2 separate regions of the Homo sapiens genome follow, and region 2 is linked to region 1. Evidence: promoter capture Hi-C in human tissues and cell types (Jung and others, 2019). All regions are on one chromosome and are shown on one strand. Each heading gives the region's core, a stretch centred on a gene start or on the middle of the fragment in contact. The rest is flanking DNA. Distances are from core to core; before and after follow the strand shown.

What was found. The method cuts DNA at HindIII sites, captures the fragments that hold promoters and counts their contacts. A contact is called where the count stands out against the background at its distance.
Region 2: a fragment that was not itself captured here is called in contact with the fragment with the promoter of KIAA0930 in region 1 in 1 of the 25 tissues and cell types used here (dorsolateral prefrontal cortex).

The regions. Positions count from the first base shown.
Region 1 is chr22:45,239,644-45,245,736 of GRCh38, forward strand. KIAA0930 reads right to left here and starts at 1,251. Exons shown (of 10, transcript NM_001009880.2): 1 at 997-1,251. The coding sequence starts at 1,060. RefSeq lists silencers at 825-914, 1,065-1,124, 1,285-1,344, 1,375-1,574. The HindIII fragment of the contact is 11,413 bases long and covers 1-6,093 here.
Region 2 is chr22:45,759,880-45,765,972 of GRCh38, forward strand. The region is part of intron 9 of ATXN10 (ataxin 10); the gene reads left to right. It overlaps MIR4762 (microRNA 4762), which reads left to right and starts at 645; the gene lies at 645-719. RefSeq lists an enhancer at 2,772-3,365 and a silencer at 2,930-3,224. The HindIII fragment of the contact is 7,619 bases long and covers 1-6,093 here.

The DNA.
Region 1 (6,093 bases), core at 1-2,500:
GGGGGATGCACTTGTTCTCTGGGACTCAGTTTCCCCAACGGTGAATGAAGGGGTGAATCTGGAAGGCTGACATTCCGTACTCAGCAATGCTGTCACCCCCTCAGAAATCCCCAGCCTAGCCTGGGGGTGGGGTGGGGGGTGGCTGACAATGTGGTATGAAGTCATTCCCTGCACGGAGGAGGGAGGGGTCTTTTCCATGGAGAAAATGACGAACCTGAGACGACAAAAGAGGGGGCTTCTCCTGGGCTTCAGTCTGGGCATGATCCATCAGTAATGGATTACCTCACTGGCTGGGAGACCCCACCCACACCTGCAGTCCCAGGCCCTTCCAAACAATACGAGGCACCCCCATCCCACGCCCCCCAGCAGATCCATGACTTAAAGCCCAGAATCACACCGAGAGGCAGCAGGCCCTGCCCCTCAGCCAAGCGGGCGGGTTCGGGGGGCCATTGCCCAACAGGTCCCTGGATACAGCTAAGGGATGAGAGGGGCCGGTGGGTGCGGAAAGACAAAGGCTTCGGGTAGCAGGAGACAGTGGCCAGGGCACGCTCGCAGCGAGGTCCACCCAGAGCCCAACGAGGGCCCGACCCTGCCGCGCTGGGCTAAGGGTGTACCCAGATCCCACGCCCACACTCCCTACCGCGGTGCTGAGGGCCCGGGGCGGGCTTCCTGGAGAAGGAAGAAGACCCGCAGAGACACGAAGAAGAAGGAGGAAGATGAGACAGACACCCGGACGGACTGACAGGGGGAGACGCCGAATGAGACCCGGGCACAGGGGTGCGGGGCGCTCGTCGGACGGAAAGCAGAGACAGACCCAGATGCAGGGACGGTGGGGGGGGGGCCATGGAGGAAGACAGGGTACCCAGGCAGACCCAGAGACCACGACACCCGCGCAGAGACAGAGATGCGCGGGGCGCACAGAAACACGGACGCGCAGAGGCGGCCCCGGAGACGCTCACCTCTCCCGGCCCGGCCTCGCCCCCGGGTCCCACTCACCGAGGCCGCAGACCTCGCGGCGCAGGCTAAGACGGCCGCGCTCCTCCGCTATGGCACGCAGCATGTGCTGCAGCGAGCGCTCCTCGGCCTCGGCGCCGCCCGCAGGCTCGGGGGCGGCGGCGGCGGGGAGGGCGGGCGGCCCGGCCCGCAGCCCGCCGCGAGCACCAAGGAAGCCACAGTCCGCCTCTGTGCGCGTCGCCGTCGCCGCCGCCGCCGCCACCACCCGCCAAACACAGCACCGGCGAGCGCACCTCCGCGCCGCCGCCGCCCGCGCGCCCCCGGCTCCGCTCGCCCCGCCCCGGCCCGGCCCGGCCCCGGTCCGGCCCCGCCCCTTCCCCGCCCCGGCCCCGCCCCTGTCCCCTCCCGCCCCGCCTCTGAACGGCCCGGACCCACCCCGGCTCCCTGGCCCCGCCCCCTGACCTCCCTTGCCCCGCCCACTTCCAAACGGCCAGTCTCCGCCAATCTTCGGATGCCCAGGACAGCCTCCCTCAAACCGCTCGCGGGGTCCCGCCTCCACCCAAGGTCCTAAACGCCCCACCAACGGGATCACGCCTCTGAGCCCCTCCCGCCGCCCCTTCAGGGCACCTCTCCCCTCCCCCGCTGCTACCCCACGGGATGTGTACTTTGTCACCCGCCCTGTGCGTTGCCACCTCCACCAAGTCCCCTCGGCTGACTTCTGGGAACTTCCTCCGCAGAACCCCTCAAGAGGTCACCTGCTCCCAGAAGGTGGTCTCCTGGGGGACACCGTGGCAAAGCCCTTCCGGCCCCCCTCCTCTGCACCTGGCACAGTGCAGAGTGTTGCGCCTCCATTTCCTCAGCTGCACCATGGGGGACCTTTCCCTGCCTTGCCTCCCCAACATGGGGGAGTGTTGATGAAGGGGGAGGTATGAGGTTAGCTGGGCGTGTCATCCTGATGAAGCCAGGTCTGGCCAGCATCCCTCCGTGTGCTAGTTGTGGCTGATACAGGAAGACACCGGAGAAGCAGCCAGTGGCCTCCCCAAACCTCACGCCTGGTGGTCCATTTCCAAGAACAGGGGGAGATGGAGAGACCAGCATTGATTTCCAGGTCTCTCCAAAGCTAAATCTACATCACTCCCTGCATTCACAGCCTGTGTGTGGACCCCAGACCCATCAAGGTCCCCCTTTCCCCTGTCTGGAGTCCTCTTCTCCCCATTCCTGTGTAACTTGCTTCCTTTGTGTCCCGAGTGTCACATCCTCAAAGAAACTCCCCTGACCGCCTTCCCTCCCTCTCTCTTCCCTTAGTCTGTTTCTCCTTCACAGGGTGACACTTACCTCCTCCCGACACATTGGATACCTATGGGTTCACTTGTTCTCTTCTCTACCGAGGGAGGGGCCTGTCTACTACACAGCTGTTGTCTCAGTACCCAGAACATTGCCTGGCACACATTAGATGCCCAATAAATAGATATGGGCTGCAGGCTGGGCACAGTGGCTCATGCCTGTAATCCCAACACTTTGGGAGGCCGAGGTAGGTGGATTGCCTGAGGTTAGGAGTTCCAGAACAGCCTGGCTAAAATGGTGAAACCCCATCTCTACTAAAAATACAAAAATTAGCCGGGCATGGTAGCACACATTTGTAATCCCAGCTACTCTGGAGGCTGAGGCAGGAGAATTGCTTGAACCTGGGAGGCGGAGGCTGCAGTGAGCCGAGATCCCGCCACTGCACTCCAAGCTGGGAGACAGAGCAAGACCCTGTCCCCCCCCAAAAAAAAAGAAAAGAAAAGAAAAAAAAATGTAGGCTGCATAAACGAAGAATGATGGAGAGGTCTGATGGGGACGCAGGGGTCTTCCTGGGAGGCACAGCAGGAAGGAGCCGTGGGGTTGGGCAGAGCCCCAGAAGGGAGATGGGATCTGGATCCTGCTTCAGGCCTCTGCCCCAGTTTTGTGCCACTGGCCCCTGAACTCTTCAGAGCAGAGCCACATCTGACCCCTCTGTGTCCCCAGTGCCAGGCCCAGGAGGGCTCTGTAGAAAGGTGAGCAGTGAGGGAATGAAGGAAGTGCGCGACCAGCCTCACGTGTATTTCTCTTCTCCAGTGGGCCTGCATCCCTGTCTGTAAAGTGAGGACACTGGCATGAGGGCTGAGGCCTCTGGTTCTGCGTCTGGAGAGCTGGGGTTTGGGCTGGTGGACGTGAGAACTGGGGATGGTGGATCAGACAGCATGAGCGAGTGCTCCAAGGCTGTCAAGTCCAATAGTCACATCCCTCTTTGCCTCCCCAAACCCCACAGCACCCCCTGCCTGTTCCCACTGCCATGCGTTTGCCCACAGTGTTCCCTTGGCCTGAAATCCTTTCTGCTCCGCAACTGTAGTTGCCTTTGGGACCCACATTGCCTGGTTACGCTTGGCCAATGCATTGTGTTCTTATTTGCTTCACAAACCCCCTTTCCCCACCCCACCCTCCTGCACACAGTTGCCTCCGTGTATTCTGTGTCATATGACCAGCATTGAACCAATTCATCCCACTTCCCGTGGCACCCAGCCCAGGACTGGTGCCAGAAAAATATCTGTTGAATGAATGAGTAAACAAACATCGCTTGGGCTCTCTCCTTTGTATTTCAATAATACTCCAGGTATTACCTATACACAGAATTTTCTTTCTTTCTTTTTTTTTTTTTTTTTTTTTGAGGCGGAGTTTTGCTCTTGTTGCCCAGGCTGGAGTACAATGTCGCGATCTCGCCTCACCGCAACCTCCACCTCCCAGGTTCAAGCAATTCTCTTGCCTCAGCCTCCCAAGTAGCTGGGATTACAGGCATGTGCCACCACGCCCGGCTAATTTCATGGAGATGGGGTTTCTCCATGTTGGTCAGGCTGGTCTCGAACTCCTGACCTCACATATACACAGAATTTTCTAATGTCAACAAATGCTAAATCACACTGTGCATGGGAAGAGGGCAGGAGCAGGACTTCTGGGGCTACAGAGCATGTTCTGTTTCTTGATCTGGGGGCTGGTTACACGGGTGTGGTCAGTTTATGAAAATTAAAAGGCTGCACAGCTGGGCATGGTGGCTCACGCCTGTAATCCCAGCACTTTGGGGGGCCAAGGCGGGCAGATCACCTGAGGTCGGGAGTTCGAGACCAGCCTGGCCAACCTGGCGAAACCCCATCTCTACTAAAAATACAAAAATTAGCTGGGCGTAATGGCACACACCTGTAGTCCCAGCTATTCTGGAGGCTGACGCAGGAGAATCGCTCGAACCTGGGAGGCAGAGGTTGCAGTGAGCCGAGATTGTGCCACTACACTCCAACCTGGGCAACAGAGCGAGACTCCATCTCAAAAAAAAAAAAAAGTTAGAAAATCAAAAGGCTGTGTGCTGTGGTTCAAACCTGTAACCACAGCACTTTGGGAGGCCAAGGCAGGCAGGAGGCTGGCTTAGGCCCAGGAGTTTGAGACCAGCCTGGCCAACATAGCAAGACCTCATCTTTACAAAAAAAAAAAAATTAGCCAGGTGTGATGACACACGTCTGTGGTCACAGCTACTCAGGAGGCTGAGGTGGGAGGATTGCTTGAGGCGGGGAAGTCAAGGCTGCAGTGAGCCGCGATCACACTGCTGCACTCCAGCCTAGGCAACAGAGTGAGACCTGGTCTCAAAAAAAAAATATATATATATGTATATATAACATATATATATGTAATATATATAATATATATGTTATATATGTAATATATGTATGTAATATATATATAAAGCTGGCATTTTGTAATTATTTATGCACTTTTCTGTATACAAATATTCAGAATATAAAATAGAATTGAAAGTATATAGGCAGAATAATGGCCCCAAAATGCCCACACCCTAATTCCTGTGCTAATTCCTGTGAATATGTTGCCTTACCTGGCAAAATGGACTTTGCTGACGTGATTTTTTGTTTGTTTGTTTTCGAGACAGGGTCTCACTCAGTTGCCCAGGCTGGAGTGCAGTGGCACGATCTTAGCTCACTGCAACCTCCACCTCCCCAGCTCAATCCATCCTCCCACCTCAACCTCCTGAGTAGCTGGGACTAAGGGTGTGTGCCACCACACCCGGCTATTTTTTGTATTTTTTGGTAGAGACAGGGTTTCACCATGTTGGCCAGGCTGGTCTCGAACTCCCGACCTCAAGTGATCTGCCCACCTCGGGCTCCCAAAGTGCCGGGATTACAGGCATGAGCTGCCACATGGGGCCTAAGAGTACAGACACTGAGATAGGGAGACTATCCTGGGTTATCCAAGTGGGCCCAATCTCATCACATAAATTCTTAAAATCGGGGAACATTTCCTGGCTGTGGTCAAAAAGAGATGTGACAACACAAGAATGGTCAGGTAAATGCAATGTTGCTGGCACTGAAGAGGGAGGAAGGGGCCACAAGACAAGGCATACAGGCAGCTTCCGGAAGCTGGAAGAGGCAAGGAAACAGATTCTCCTACAGTTGCCCCCAGATATGACACAGCCCTGCCTGCACCTTGACTTTAGCTCAGCAAGACCTCAGTTGAACTTCTAACCTACAGAACTGGAAATGTGTTAAGGCAATAACGTTGTAGTAATTATTACAGCAGTGATACCAATACGTGGGCAAGCCTGAGATGTGGGCATTGTGTCAGCTCTCCACCTAAGCGCTTCTATCCCTGAGGTTTATTTTGCAAACACTTAGAACAACAATCAAGCAAAGTTTAGCAGAAAGAAAAAACAACCACAATCCAATTGCTTTAATAGGTCAGTCTTGCTTCATTTTTCAGAGTTCCTGCCCGGGGTTTGCCTAATGCCATCCCTCTACACTATTGTAACAGCGGTGTCCGACAGCACACATTTTTATCTCCAAATGCTTGGGGCTGATCTTATTCAAAGAGCCAGACAGTGTTTTTTTGTTGTTTTGTTTGTTTGTTTGTTTGTTTTTTTGAGACTGAGTTTCACTCTGTGGCCCAGGCTGGAGTGCAGTGGCGCGATCTCGGCTCACTGCAAGCTCCGCCTCCCGGGTTCACGCCATTCTCCTGTCTCAGCCTCCTGAGTAGCTGGGACTACAGGCGCCCGCCACCACGCCCGGCTAATTTTTTGTATTTTTAGTAGAGACAGGGTTTCACTGTGTTAGCCAGGATGGTCTC
Region 2 (6,093 bases), core at 1,714-4,213, 520 kb after region 1:
TCTGCACCTGTGTAATTATCACCCCAGTCAAGGTACAGAGAGCACCTCTATCCCCTCAGAAAGTTTTTTCCATGCTGGCTGTTGTGTGCCAGTGTGCCAGGAGAGCATGGGGCAGGGGAATGATGGCCCTAAGAAAGGAAGGAGGAACAGGGGGAATCTTGAATTACATTCTTTCCCCACGTGGAGATAGATTTGTGCTAATTCCACAACGTGGAACATCCTCCTTCGTTTGCTTAGACTTCCCTGGGAGCAGTAGCCCATGTACTGGTGGCCTAGCTCAACTGTGGCTTGGTTCTGGGCCTGTAAAGCCATCTTTCCCACCTACAGATGACATTCCCTATCTTCATCATGTGCTTTTAGTCAGGTTTCCTGCGGGCCAGATGCATCTGAGAGTGTGCCCTCATTAATATGGGACTCTGTGTATGTCCAGCACATGTGGGGTTTATTCACGTACCAGTGATTATTATTCAACATCGTTCCCTTTAGTGCAGCAAGCACTTTCTGAGTGCTTACCATGTGCCACTTTCTGTGAACCTCTGCAGTTCAACAGTGGAGTCAGAGGCAGTCCTTGTTCTCAAGTAGCTCATGATCTACTGTGGGAGACAGATGGCTAGATGATAGGGTGTAGTCATATCCCATTATTTCTGATACCCCAAATCTTGATCAGAAGCCTTGATCAGAAGCTAGGAAGGCTTCTGATCAAGATTTGTGGTGTCAAGAATAACAACGATTACAGCAATAGTAGTTGCTTATTGAGTGTGTCCTGTGTCCTAGGCACAGTTCTGAGTATTCGTCTCTTACCTCATTTAATGATGATACCTCTCCCATGTTGCAGATGAGGAGACTGAGGGCCAGAATGGTTCAGTAGTGTACCCAAGGCCACACAGCTGTTAAGTGGCATGAGAAAGAAAGAAACTTTCATTTTAAGCCTCTTAGATTTTTGTGGATTGTTTGTTACTGCAGCACGAACCAGCCCATCCTCACTGATAAGAGCCCCAGTGTGCGGAGTGGATTCCTGAGCCAGTTAAAAGGTTGCTACAGCAGTGGAGGCCTGGTTGGAGGGTGGTGATAAGCCTGGAAATAAAAGGACATATGTGAGAGACAGTAATTTGATAAAGAGTAATGAAAGAGGAAGCTTTCTTTCAGGTAGCTTATTCTGTTTCATTATTGTTGTTTTCCTTTTGGGAAAGAAGTTGAATTTTCATTGTTGGCTTATGTTTTCAAGGGTGACCTCAGTATTTTATTTTATTTTATTTTTTTGAGACGGAGTCTTGCTCTGTCGCCAGGTTGGAATGCAGTGGCGTGATTTCGGCTCACTGCAACCTCCACCTCCCAGGTTCAGGCGATTCCCCAGCCTCAGCCTCCCAAGTAGCTGGGACTTTAATGTTTTTATATTGGTGATTTTGAGCAGAGACTGTATTACCATCTAAAACACTACAAGCCTAGCATGTAAGCTCCATGTCTGTTTGCTCCTCATTCTCTCCAGGGCCCCTGGCACAGTTCCGGGCCCACAGTGAGTGCTCTGTAAACTTTTAGGGATGAACAAATGAATATTTTTAAATCTGTTCATTGTTTTCACAGTTAAACTTTTCTAAGCACTTATGTAATACTGTGTTTACTTAATTTTCATTTCTCACCAACCTTTATGGAAGACTAGGTGATAACTGGTTAAATTGTAATACAGTATCATAGGTATAATCTCGAAAAGGTAAAAATCAAATGTAACGAAGCATTATAATCCAGTGACTGGAACATTTTATGCAAGCCTTTGCTCTTTATTTATCTATTTTTTTATCATACACTTCTTCCCAGTTTTTGCTTAGTCCTTGTTAGCAGTTACATTAAAATCTGTTTTAAGTTCCACCTCAGGGAATATCAAAAGTTGGTTACTTTTCTAAATGGGCCTTTAATTAAAATTTTAAAAAATTAGACCATTGTGTTAGATTTTTTAAAATGTTGGCTAAAACAGAAAAGGTTGATTTCAGTGCAGTTGGGCTGAAACTATACTTAAATAGATTAAAGTATAATCTGGCTTTTAAAAAAAACACATCTGACTGGGATGAAGTAGTTGTGGTCTTAACTGAAGCAGGTGAATGGACCATATTCGCCTTTAAGAGCCTTCTGACTCCCAGGTTTTCTGATTTTTAAAAACTTCCTATTTAGTCATATGTTTTTACTTCACTTTATGGTTTAAGTGAGCCAACCAACAAAAGTTACTCATAAAAGATAGTATTTTACTTGTAACAATTGCAGAAAAAGTGAAAAGCTTGACATTACAGGTAGAAAGGAAGTCAGTCTCTGTCCCCTGTGCGTTTCCGAGACTGTGTTTCTATTTATTTGCCCTTTGTCTGTTTCCCCTGACCAGCGTGCGTTTCTTTCTGGAGGCGCAGGGACCTCGGCTTATTTTTCTCTGTCTTTGCATTGCTTGACAGAGGGCCTGACCCAGGGTAGGCACTCCCGCTTCATGACTACATCTCATTTTTTATTTATCTTTGTTATGATAGATAGCAGATAAAGCAGTTGATTTCAGTCAGAAGCAGACCACAGCAGCAGGATTCTTTCCACGGTGCATGTTCTGGCTGAGTGTTGGTGGGCTCCACCCTAGCCGAACCTGTGTCTGCACACCTGTTGTGTCTTCCTGGGAGGCTCCCAGGCATGCTCCTGTCTGGCCAGGGTGCTTCCTCCTCGCTCTCCAGCTGGCTGAAGGGAAGCTGGGCAAGAGTGTATGTGTTTAGGCCACAGGGAGAGCACAGACTCCCAGAGCATGAACCAAGGGGCTTCCAGGCCTCAGGGACTGCCTCCTGGTCCCCCAGAGGCCACCTCACTCTTACTCCTGTCTCCAGGCTGGTGACCTCACATGGCCCCAGCCATCTCTCCACATCCTCCCCTCCCTGCTGTGGAGCCCCCACTGACAGATGCCTTCCCCCTGTGTTTTGGCTCCAAATTCCAAGTGAGAGTAATTGCGTGGCTTCCCTTGGGTCTGTCTCCATCCCTGTTGTAGTCCCTCACAGCCCAGACTGTGGACTGCAGAGGCATCACCTAGGGGCTTGTCTGAGATGCAGAGTCTCAGGCTCTACCCCAGCATCCGGAATCAGACCATCCTCAGGGGATTGGAATGCACAGAAGCATTTAAGAAGCGCTTTGTAAAGCCATGGCCTCTCCTGCGCAAAGAACTGCGTGGTCCCTTTTCCTGGAGTAGGAGGCTGTGGCTACAGCATTTTCATCTGGAAGGAGGCCTAGGAAATGATGTTTCTGTGGCCTTCCTACCCCCTCTCCCTCACCCTGGTGACTCTCAGTTGGGGAGGGCTGCCGGGCAGTGTTCTGGGGGCAGGGAGGTGGTGGGAGAATCTGGAGAGCTGGAGAGAGTGAGGTGGTGAGGTGGGCCTGGCGTGTTCAAGGCAGAGAAGGAAGGAACGAGGGAACTGGCTGGAGAGACTTGGAGGGCTCCTCAGAGATGAGGCTGAGTGGGAGTGAAGGTTTCGTCAAGGTTACGAAAGGCCTTTGAGTTCAAGCTGAGGCCTTTGGACTTGGCCCCTCGCTCGCTTTGCCAGGAGACAGGCGGCTCCTTGCCTGAGCCTCTGTGCTTGCGCTCCTCTCCCCAGCCCCAGGTCTGCAGAGTGTGTGGCTGCTGCACCCTCAGGTGTTTGCTCATCTCCTCACAGGTCTTTCCTGCCCCCTACCTGTTAAAAGTCGGACCCCACCACGCCCCCCACCTCTCTGTCCCTGCTCTTTGGGCCCTTCCTTTTCCCCAGGTTGGGCTCTTGCCTTTTTCTCTGTTCCTTCACTGCCACAGGTCAGACTGTCTTCATATGCATGCATTTACAGGCACATTTGTGGTTGGTTTTGTCTGCTCTGCTCTTCGCAACCCTAGAATGTAAGTACAAGGAGGATAGGCAGGGACCATTTGTCTCTTCACCATTCTGGTGCTGGGAACAGCATAGCATGGTGGTGGAGTGGGCTCACTGAGTGAGCTGGTGAGCATGGGCTGTCTTGAGGTGCCGGCTGTGTTAGGCTCTTACCCCCACCTCCCCCAGTGTCTTCCAGGCCCCCTTCTTATCTAAGGCTGCTACGTGTTATTGGAGAAAATTATAATACCTGACTTGTGAGTTCCATTCCAGAATTCGGCCAGCCAGTTTCTCCCCGGCCTCTCCGGCAGCCTCTCTGCTTCTCCCTGATCCTGCAGCGTGTGCTTGAAATCCTTCCTCACGGTGCACACTCATCTTCAATACTGCAGCATCTGACCCTGACTTCATACGCTTGCTTGCTAAGTCCACATTCTCTGCAGGAATCATCTTCTCCCTCCCCCATCGCAGGGGAGTTCCCTCTCTGCAGGGTTAGATCCACCGCTACCCCCCAGCCCCCACCCCCACTCCCACTCAGGCAAGCCTTGTTGCCCCAGGCCCAGACCTCTCAGATTCCCTCCTGTCACACTGCCTTCCTGCTCAGCATTACCAGGGCTCCTGGTAAGTTTCCGTGGAAGGGTTTCCCTTAGCAAGGCTTCTGTTCTATAAAATGTTTACAACTCCCCTCCCTTCCCCATGAGTTTGAGTCTCAACTCTCAAAAGACATCTCCCTTGCGTCTGGCTAATCCGGGTTTGTTTGGCCTCATCCTTTCAGACTTCAGAATCCAACTCGCTCTTCATGAGCCTTTGTCTTTTACCAGTGGTAGTTTCGTTGACTTTTTACCCCATCATCCTTTGTGGGTAGATTGAAGCTAAGATAGAGTTTTCTCTTTTTTGGTATCAAACCCTTGCATGCTTTGGTGAAGTGGAGCAAAGCAAAATTTGAACACCCAAAGAATTTATTCAGAACGGTGTAAAATGAGACTCTCTGGATGGAACAAATAACAACATTCGTAAACCACGTGTATATTTAGTAAGCTGCGGAGTTATTGGAAATTCACAGGCGCTTCTGCTCCACACACATTCTGTTGAATTCTCAGCATCAGACAGCTAGGATGTCAGTGCTGTCTGCTAGTGTCCTTGTGACTGTGGGGACATTTGTCTGTTTTAAATTGTTGTGAGGTTTTTATTCTGAACCTTTTCACATCTTCAGTATATGCTCTTCATTTTTCAATCAGTTAATTCCCAACAGTCATTGTCACCAGTAATCTTATATTTTACAGTTTAAAGGATTATATGATAAACTTTCCATTTTATAAATGGTAAAAATCCCTTTCAGGATTTCTGGTGAAGCACGTTTGAAGAAACATACTGGTTGGAAAGCAGCGTGAAGTATGCCCCTGTGGAAACACTACCGGGAGCCAAGGAGATTGCCCTCTCATCGCGGGGCCAGTCCTAGAAGCCACTTCTTCCCCAAGGCAATGGCAGGAGGAAAGATTTGACTTAGTGTGGGGATGATAAAGATCAGGAGGTTGCAGCACATCATCATAGGAAGATACAGAGAGGCTGTGAGGAGCAAGACAAGTCTGAAAGCCACCAAGAGGGAGACAGTACTAGGGAGACTTGGCAGGGTTTGTAGTAAAGCGAAACTTTGCCAGTCATTAGAAATTAGTTTAGAGGCATTAAAATGCTGCCCAAATCTTGGAAGATAAACTTGTGCTCTGGTGAATTATTCCTCTCTCTCTCCCTAATTCCTAATTGCAAGAAGTTGCTCTAGAATCAGCTGGGACTGAGGGGTTGATTGTGGTGGATTTGCTCCCCTCCTCCACCTGCACCTTGGCATTACCTAAGTTCCCCCTTATTGGGTGCTCATATCTTTAGTGCAAATATTTTAAAAGCCCCTCCATGTCATAAATCACTCCTCAAATATAAAGTACTTCCTGAAAATTGCAAATCTTACTCTTGCTGTTCAAAATATTGGTTGTTCTCATGAAGACCCTACTGAGATGGAAGCAGCCTACCTGAAAATTGTCCCTATTCGTACCATGTGCTTAGGTAAAAAGACTCAATTTCATTCAGATGGCATTTCTCCTTACATTAATTTACAAATTTAATATGATCCCAGTAATACCCTCAGGTTTTTTTTGAGCTAGATTGATTCTAAATTTATTTAGATAAATAAATGAGCAGTAATAGCCAGGAAATTCCCTGAAAAAGAAAAATAACAGCTAGTTCTACCAGATACTAAAAA